2 separate regions of the Homo sapiens genome follow, and region 1 is linked to region 2. Evidence: promoter capture Hi-C in 16 types of primary human blood cells and fetal thymus (Javierre and others, 2016). All regions are on one chromosome and are shown on one strand. Each heading gives the region's core, a stretch centred on a gene start or on the middle of the fragment in contact. The rest is flanking DNA. Distances are from core to core; before and after follow the strand shown.

The links. Contacts are between HindIII fragments. The CHiCAGO score rates a contact against its expected background, and 5 or more counts as called.
Region 1: a fragment that was not itself captured here is called in contact with the fragment with the promoter of CUL2 in region 2 in 1 of 17 cell types (total B cells); the score reaches 5.2 in total B cells.

The regions. Positions count from the first base shown.
Region 1 is chr10:36,868,576-36,872,474 of GRCh38, forward strand. No RefSeq gene overlaps it. Among named protein-coding and RNA genes, the nearest start is that of ANKRD30A, 260 kb to the right of the region's middle. The HindIII fragment of the contact is 3,386 bases long and covers 302-3,687 here.
Region 2 is chr10:35,088,995-35,093,296 of GRCh38, forward strand. It overlaps CUL2 (cullin 2), which reads right to left and starts at 1,347. Exons shown (of 21, transcript NM_003591.4): 1 at 1,185-1,347. RefSeq lists silencers at 1,118-1,247, 1,268-1,467, 1,521-1,709 and an enhancer at 1,628-1,767. The HindIII fragment of the contact is 6,346 bases long and covers 1-1,683 here.

The sequences.
Region 1 (3,899 bases), core at 745-3,244, 1.8 Mb after region 2:
GTTTGTTGATAATAATTATCCTCTTATATAAAATTTATGTATAAAAATCTCACCTCCGAATATATTAAATGACAAAATTACTTTATAAAATGTTTATGCACACTTTATAACCTTAAGTTTTCATTTGGCCATGTAAAAGTACAAGGTGCAGTAGACTTCAACAGTCTTGAGTGCCAGGAATAATTCAGAAAGAGAAAATAGTTGACAAATGAATTGAAAGAGTCCTAATCCAAAGATGGTAAAAATGTAGAAAGACCTTGATGGCTTTCTGGGTATCAGTTTCTTAAGCAGTCCAAACCTAAGCTTAGAAGAAAAGCTCAGCATTGAGCACTTTCACCTTCATGGGTAAGTTTCAGCTTACTCTTGCCAAGAGAAGAAGGCAGAATTAGTTTGAAGTATGCAGCCTTTTTGTAAACTTTCCAGATATCGAAATAAATTTTGATATATAAATGCATTTTCTGAGATGATATGCCTCAGTTTCTATAGCCATTTCACCTGGAATATCTAATCAGTCCTATGAGTGTATTCCTACATGTGCCCAGCTTCTATGAAAACCAATTCACTGCCTTATGGCAATTAAGTACGTTATTTAAGGAGGAAAAAAATTAAATTGTTGAATCGAATGTGTAGGCTTCTTACCATTATAGAATTTCTCTTTGCACATTAGTTAATGACTTAATCTAAATTTTAAGTGTTTAAAAATAGTTAATTGTCCTTCATCAAACTTGTATTAAATAGGTCCATTTATGTATGGAAGAGGGAAAGAGTTCATATAAGCTGGACACAAGCTCATGTGCCTGTGAGTCAGTAAAGACTGAAGTAATGTCCCATGTTGAGTTGGTTATTTTGATATATGATGATTAACATCTTTGAGGTAAAACAATTTTTTAACTGGAAAATCACAAGATATATTCATCATATTTTTCAAGAAAGATAGTTTTTTTCCTGCATGGCAAATAGGTTAAAGTAACACTCTATGGAAATTGCATTTAGGTTCTAAAAAAATAATCTGTAGAGATATCTATGCAATATATAGTTCGTTCAGATTAGTTTTCATTCGGGGAATGAAGTTCTGAAATGTCTCCAAAGTAGTTTACTCATCAATTTAAAAGTCCTCCAATAGGAGAATGATTGGACCATGGTGTGTGGTAGTGGAAAAGAAAAGCTCCCTCCGTTTTTTGAAGGGAATAACTTTAAAAAACACTTAAACTTTTGTTTACTTGGTACAGTTAAGAATTCAACTTGTCGGCCGGGCGCGGTGGCTCACGCCTATAATCCCAGCATTTTGGGAGGCTGAGGTGAGCGGATCACGAGGTCAGGAGATCGAGACCATCCTGGCTAACATGGTGAAACCCCGCCTCTACTAAAAATACAAAAAATTAGCTGGGCGTGGTGGCAGGCACCTGTAGTCCCAGGTACTCGGGAGGCTGAGGCAGGAGAATGGCGTGAACCCGGGAGGCGGAGGTTGCAGTGAGCCGAGATTGCGCCATTGCACTCTAGCCTGGGTGACAGAGCGAGACTCCGTCTCAAAAAAAAAAAAAAAGAATTGAACTTGTCAATTTTAACAGTGTTTATACCTGAAATAAACTTATGTGATGTTCAAACAAAAGGATGTGTATGGCAGCATTGTCCATAATAGAATATTACTATAATCAGCTCAAAATCTACATCAACAAAAGAATGGACATAGAAAAAAATAGACTATTCATACAATGGAATCAGAGTTGGCAATAAAATTAAAGAGCTAGAGCTTCAAGTAACTAGTTGATGAATCTCAGAAAAAAAAAACTGACGAATAAAAATAAGTCACAGAGAAAATCATTAAACATGACTCTATCTGCATAATATAAAAGATAGGCCAGAATAAACAATATTTTGTTTGGGAATACATTTTCTTTTTTTGTTTCTGTTATTGTTTTGTTTGTTCGTTTTTGTTTGGGATGGCGTCTGGCTCTTGTTGCCCAGTCTGGAGTGCAATGGAACCATCTCGGCTCACTACAACCTCCACCTCCTGGGTTCAAGTGATTCTCCTACCTCAGCCTCCCAAGTAGCTGGGATTATTGGCACGTGCCACTACACACGGCTAATTTTTGTATTTTTAGTATAGACGGGGTTTCACCATGTTGGCCAGGCTGGTCTTGAATTCCTGACCTCAGGTGATCCACCCGCCACGGCCTCCCAAAGTGCTGGGATTATAGGTGTGAGCCATGTGCAATGGCAGGATCTCGGGTCACTGCAACCTCCGCCTCCTGGGTTCAGGCGATTCTCCTACCTCAGCCTCCCGAGTAGCTGGGATTACAGGCGTGGGCCACCATACCCGGCTAATTTTTGTATTTTTAATAGAGACAGGGTTTCATCAGGTTGGCCAGGCTAGTATCAAACTCCTGACCTCAGGTGATCCGCCCGCCTCAACCTCCCAAAGTGCTGAGATTACAGGCGTGAGCCACTGCGCCCAGCCTTGGAATACATTTATATGTGTTAAAACTATATAAAAGAGAAAGTGACTGACGAATGGTGAATGATTATAGCGGCAAGAAAACATGGAGATTTTAAGTGCAGACTCGGGAATTAAACTGCTCTGCTTCCAGCTCTACCACTAATTAACTGCGTGACTTACTTGACCTTGGTCAGTTGTCCAATATCTCTATGCCACAGTGTCCTTATCTAAAGAAGGGTGGTACATGCACCTATGTCATACGATTATATATGGATAAGTGACTTTAAATCTCATCGCATGTGTGTTTATTATTCAGACTGAGTTCTAGATGATAGTTACCTCTAGTGGGGATGAGGAGGCAGAGCAATGCAATTTGAAAGGGGAGTACTGGGGCCCCAAACATTTTCTCAAATCAACTGCATCACATGGTTGATACAGCCTCAGTAACACTTTATTGGCCTGACATGGTGGCTCATGCCTGTAATCCCAGCACTTTGGGAGGCTGAGGCGGGTGGATCACCTGAGGTCAGGAGTTCGAGACCAGTCTGGCCAACATGGTGAAATGCCATCTCTACTAAAAATACAAAAAATTAGCCAGGCATGGTGGCAGGCGCCTGTAATCCCAGCTACTCGGGAGTCTGAGGCAGGAGAATTGCTTGAACCGGGAGGCAGAGGTGGCAGTGATCTGAGATGGCATCATAGTACTCCAGCATGCACAACAAGAGTGAAACTGTCTCAAAAAAAAACAACAACATTTTATGTTATTTTTGTAAACTCCACATATACACTGCATGTCTCTTCTATGTGTCTTATATTTTACATTTTTTAAAGTTAGGTTTTAGACTAGGAAATTATTTTCCCATTTCTTTCCTTGAAAAAGTACAATAGACCAACCAGGGCAATATAGTGAGACCTTGTCTCTACAGGTGGCACGTGCCTGTAGTTCCAGCTACTTGGGCGGCTGAGATGGGAGGACAGCTTGAGGCCCAGAGGTTGAAGCTGCAGTGACCTATGATCGCACCACTGCACTCCAGCCTGGGAGACAGAGTGATATTCAGTCTCAAAAAAAAAAAAAAAGTACAATATATCACTTAAACTGAAAGTTTAAGATTGATAAACAAATGTGTTTATTCTTCTATTTCCAAAAATTGGTATTTAAATATTACTTGTTGCTAAATTGACTTCCTTTTAAACGGCACTTGGTGTACACATACCAAATAGTTTTCAATCTGTGCATTTGGCTATGGTGAAGCTTCTAAGGAATAAACTATTTCCTCTGGGCAAGGATCCGTTTGTAGGACTATGAAACTATCAATTTGCCTTAAGAATTTGGTATGGCTTAGTAAATTTGTAGCTGGCATGGCCTCTCTGGTTTAATTCGTATTTAAGGAAAGTAAAGTACAGTAAATCAGTTTTTCCAAAGTGACTTCGTTTTTCTTACAAGTCCTCCCAATGCATTGTT
Region 2 (4,302 bases), core at 97-2,596:
GTGAAACCCCATCTCCACTAAAAATACAAAATTAGCCGGGCATGGTGGCGCATGCCAGTAATCCCAGCTACATGGAAGGCTAAGGCAGAAGAATTGCTTGAACCCGGGAGGCGGAGGTTGCAGTGAGCCGAGATCGCACCACTGCACTCCAGCCTGGGTGACAAGAGCAAAACTCCATCTCAAAACAAAAAAACTGTGTACTTCTCTTATCTCACGCGACTCTTTTGGAAGGATCTTCCAGATACTGTATAAGGGCAAAAGAAGCAAAGTATAGCTCATTTGTTCATGTGTCTGTCTTGAAAAGGAATGTAAGATTCTAAAGGGTAGGCAACAGTGTTTTGAATGTTTTTAAGCGATTATTATGTAGTCAGTTGTCAATCAGATCAAAGTGATTATTTCCGATACTTTACTACGAAGGTAGGCTTGGCCAGGTCTAGTTCAAAGACGTTTATGTTGAACAGTCACAATCTATAGCGAACGTTAATATTTTGCATCTTATCTTCAAAATTTAAACGCCCAGGGTACTGGCCTTCAACTGTTAATATTAATCCATGGGGCAAAGATGTGGACTTAACATTAATAACAGTCTGCAATTCACAGATGTTTTATTTGCATGCACGTAATGGTAGGGAATGGTCCAGACTCTCTAGAGGGTAAGCAAGTGCTAGAAAGCGTGTGAGGATCTTATTTCACCAGACCCTAAGGGTTGAGACAAGAAGTCTAGCATGCACGTAGGATACTCCTCCCCAAAGCTATCAATCTTTGCAGTCTGCGGAAACAAAAGTGAAAACACTCGGGGTAAGGATGCATGAGATGCCCCCCCCCACACACACACACAAACACACAGAGTTGTGTATTCGTGTGAGCACGTAAATATGTAGAAGAATACACGCACTCTCACCTTCCCTCCTTCGAAGGAAAATGGGGCCGCGGGAGAGGCGGCCAAGATCGGGTTGGGGAGGCCCGGGATCCAGTCCAGGGGGTGGCAGGGCTTACGGGTCAGCGCTCTGGGGAGCCGAGGTCACTTACAGGATACCATCTTCCCGGGCCTCCCCCTTTCATCCCTCTCCCCACACCTCGTCGCCCCCAACTCCTCTCCTCCGCCCCAGCCCCGCCACCCATTAACCGGGAAGGGAAGTTTCCCGGCGCCTGCAGCCCGGCTCCCCGACCCTCAGCGGGGTTACCTTCTGCAGAAGCAGGGCAAGGGGCAGGGGACAAGGGGAGGGGGAGGCAGCCCGAAGGAGTGAAAGACGAAGCCCCGGCGAGGAAGGTGGGCGGAGGCGGCGGCGGCGGCGGCTGTCAGCTCGCGTTCCCCTGCTCACAGCGCTGCCATTACTGTGCGCCGAGGCCGCCTCCCCGGCCGGCCGCCGCCACCGGCCCCGGAGACGCGGGGGGTGGGGAGCGAAGCCCGGGGAGCCCGCGCGCCGACACTCACCTGTCTCCGCGAGGAAAGACAGCAAAGTCCAAGGCCGCCGCCGCTCCCCGGCGGGACAGGGGCGGTAGGGAGGGGGGGAAAGGGGAGAAGGACGGGCCGATCACGGGATCCGTAAAACAATCGTCCTCCTCTGCCTCCGGCTTTGCCCAACACACACCCTCCGGTCTCCTTCTTCCGCTGCTGCCAAATCCCCCCCGCCACCCGGAAAGCAATGGTACAGGCCGCGTTACGGCAAGCGCAGGGAGCCAAGCTTCGTGTGATTGCGAAAGGCCACGGAAATTAATATTCCAAGTGATTCCTTGCTGGGCTTGCTGTCAATGAGGCAATTGCGGTTCGCTGAGCTGATGGACACAGTACCCACCCACTACCCGTTAGTTCAGGGACTGCTAATAACAATATGTTGGAATGGTGCTTTCAACAGAAGTATGTTTTCCTTGTTTCAGACCTATGTGAATATCCTAAGACACCACAATCCTCTTGCCACACACTTCCATGGGCTTTGCAAATGATCAAAAATAAATTAGCAAAACTACTTTTCCTCTCTGACAAACTCTTTTTCTTGTTAGTTTTTATCTACAGAGAATTTCTTGGACATACATGTATTTTCGATAAAGAAACTTCACATCTTTTTCACTAATACCCCACCTTCACCAAGCCCCAAGCCTATCAGTTTGAAGGGTTTTCCTCCCTTGGAGTTTTAAACGGTAAAGCTGATAAAAATATAGAATTACTCATCACCTCCTCATATATGCAGGGCCACAGAGGAACAAAAGCCCGGCCTTAGTGCTTTTTGCCTTTCATATCCTCAAGAGCTCACCATCAGGGTCTTGTTCATTTATACGATTCAGCAAGCTTTTCCCTCCCATCCCTTCCTTCCAAACTGCACGAACCCTTCAAGGCCCATTTAAAACCCTGCCTCCAGACCTGATCAGTCCCTAGAGCCTTCCTCCTCTTCTAATCTGCTTCTCTTGGTACTTGAAGTCTCTACTCTTTATTTCAGTAAAGGGTTTTTATATACGAAATTCAATCCAACAGTATGTTTCCATTATGTGACCTTTTTTTCCTCCCATGTTTTCCCCCTTTTAATCTAGTGATTCTCAAAGTGTGGTCCCCAGACCTCTGGAAATCCCTGAGACCTTTACAGAGGTCATAAGGTTAACAACTAGTTTGTTAACAATGCAATATGTCTGGTCCTTTTTTTTTTTGGATACAGAGTCTTGCTCTGTCACCCAGGCTGGAATGCAGTGGCGGCACAATCTCAGCTCACTGCAACCTGCACCTCCCGGGTTCAAGTGATTCTCCTGTCTCAGCTTCCCGAGTAGCTGGTATTACAGAAGCCCGCCACCACACCCGGCTAATTTTTTGTATTTTGTAGAGACAGGGTTTCACCATGTCACCACATTGCCCAGGCTGGTCTTGAACTCCTGAGCTCAGGCAATCCACCCACCTCAGCCTCCCAAAGTGCTAGGATTACAGGCCTGAGCCACCGTGTCAGGCCCCCCCTGCTTTTTGTTTTGTTTTGTTTTTGTTTTTGACACAGGGTCTCCCTCTGTCGCTGAGGCTGGAGTGCAGGAGTGCAGTGGCCTGATCATAGCTCACTGCGGCCTCAAACTCCTGGGCTCAAGCGAGTGTACCATCTCAGTTTCCGAAGCAGCTGTGACTACAGGCGCGTGCGCCACCACACCCAGCTAATTTTTGTATTTTTGGTAGACATGGGGTCTCACTATGTTGCCCAGGCTCCTCTGGAACTCCTGAGCTCAAGCGATCTGCCCACCTCAGCCTCCCAAAAGTTCTGGGATTACAGGAGTGAGCCACCATGCCTGGCCTCCTCTGTCTTTTTGACTGAGTTTGTTTTTGTACTGATGGTGCAAAGGAATACGGACACTATTGATGCCTTAGCAGGGATCAAGACAGTGCCACCAACCTGTCCGGGTGGTCATTGGATCGCTGTATTCTTCACTGCCATACATTCCCAGTTTTTAAGGCTATTGATTTAGGAATATCCTGGATGAAGCGGAAGCATTAATTTTATTAAATTTTGGCCCTTGAATACAAGTCTTTCTAATACTCTGTGTGAAGAAATGGGAAGTACACATGCACTTCTGCATGCCAAAGTGGGATGGCTGTCTTGAAGAAAAGCACTTGTGTGGTTGACTTACAGGCTGAACTACCTGCATTTTTCATGGTGAAACTGCCTTTGCAAAACATGATAGTAAGAGGAATCTGACCTCATTGATTTAATCTTGCTTCTGACCTCCAAGGTGTTCCTGGTCATTCCTGGGCATAGGCCAACTTAATTTGGGGAGGAAGTTAGTTTATGGTTTAACTTGAAAGCTAAGTTCCTCCCTAAAACTACCCCTGCTCTTGCTTAGGGATGAAAAACCACCTTTGGAAGACTAATGAAAAGCAGCAAGAATAGGATTATGGGAGGGGTGTGAACTTTGCTAAAGTGTAGGCATATTTCTATTAATATACTCCCTTACTGCTCAGGGGTCATGTGGCCAGAGGTCACAAGATTTGTGACTTCCCCAGTTGCTCCTATAAATAACATCAGTATTGTACAACTTTAGATTGCTTTTTGAGATATTTTTCAGACTGACCCCACCTGGACTCGTGACTCATGACTCAGAACTGGTCCTATGGCCCCACCCAGAGGCAGGCTCAGCACTCAAGGACTGTTTTCCACACCCCTATGATTCCATCCCCAACCCATCAGCAGAACCCATTCTCTAGTCCCCTGCTCACCAAATTGTCCATAAAAACCCCAACCTCCAACCCAGGGGGAGACTGATTTGAGTGATAACTCCAGTTCTCCTATGTGACTGGCCTTGGGTCAATTAAACACTTTCTCTACTGCAATACCTTGG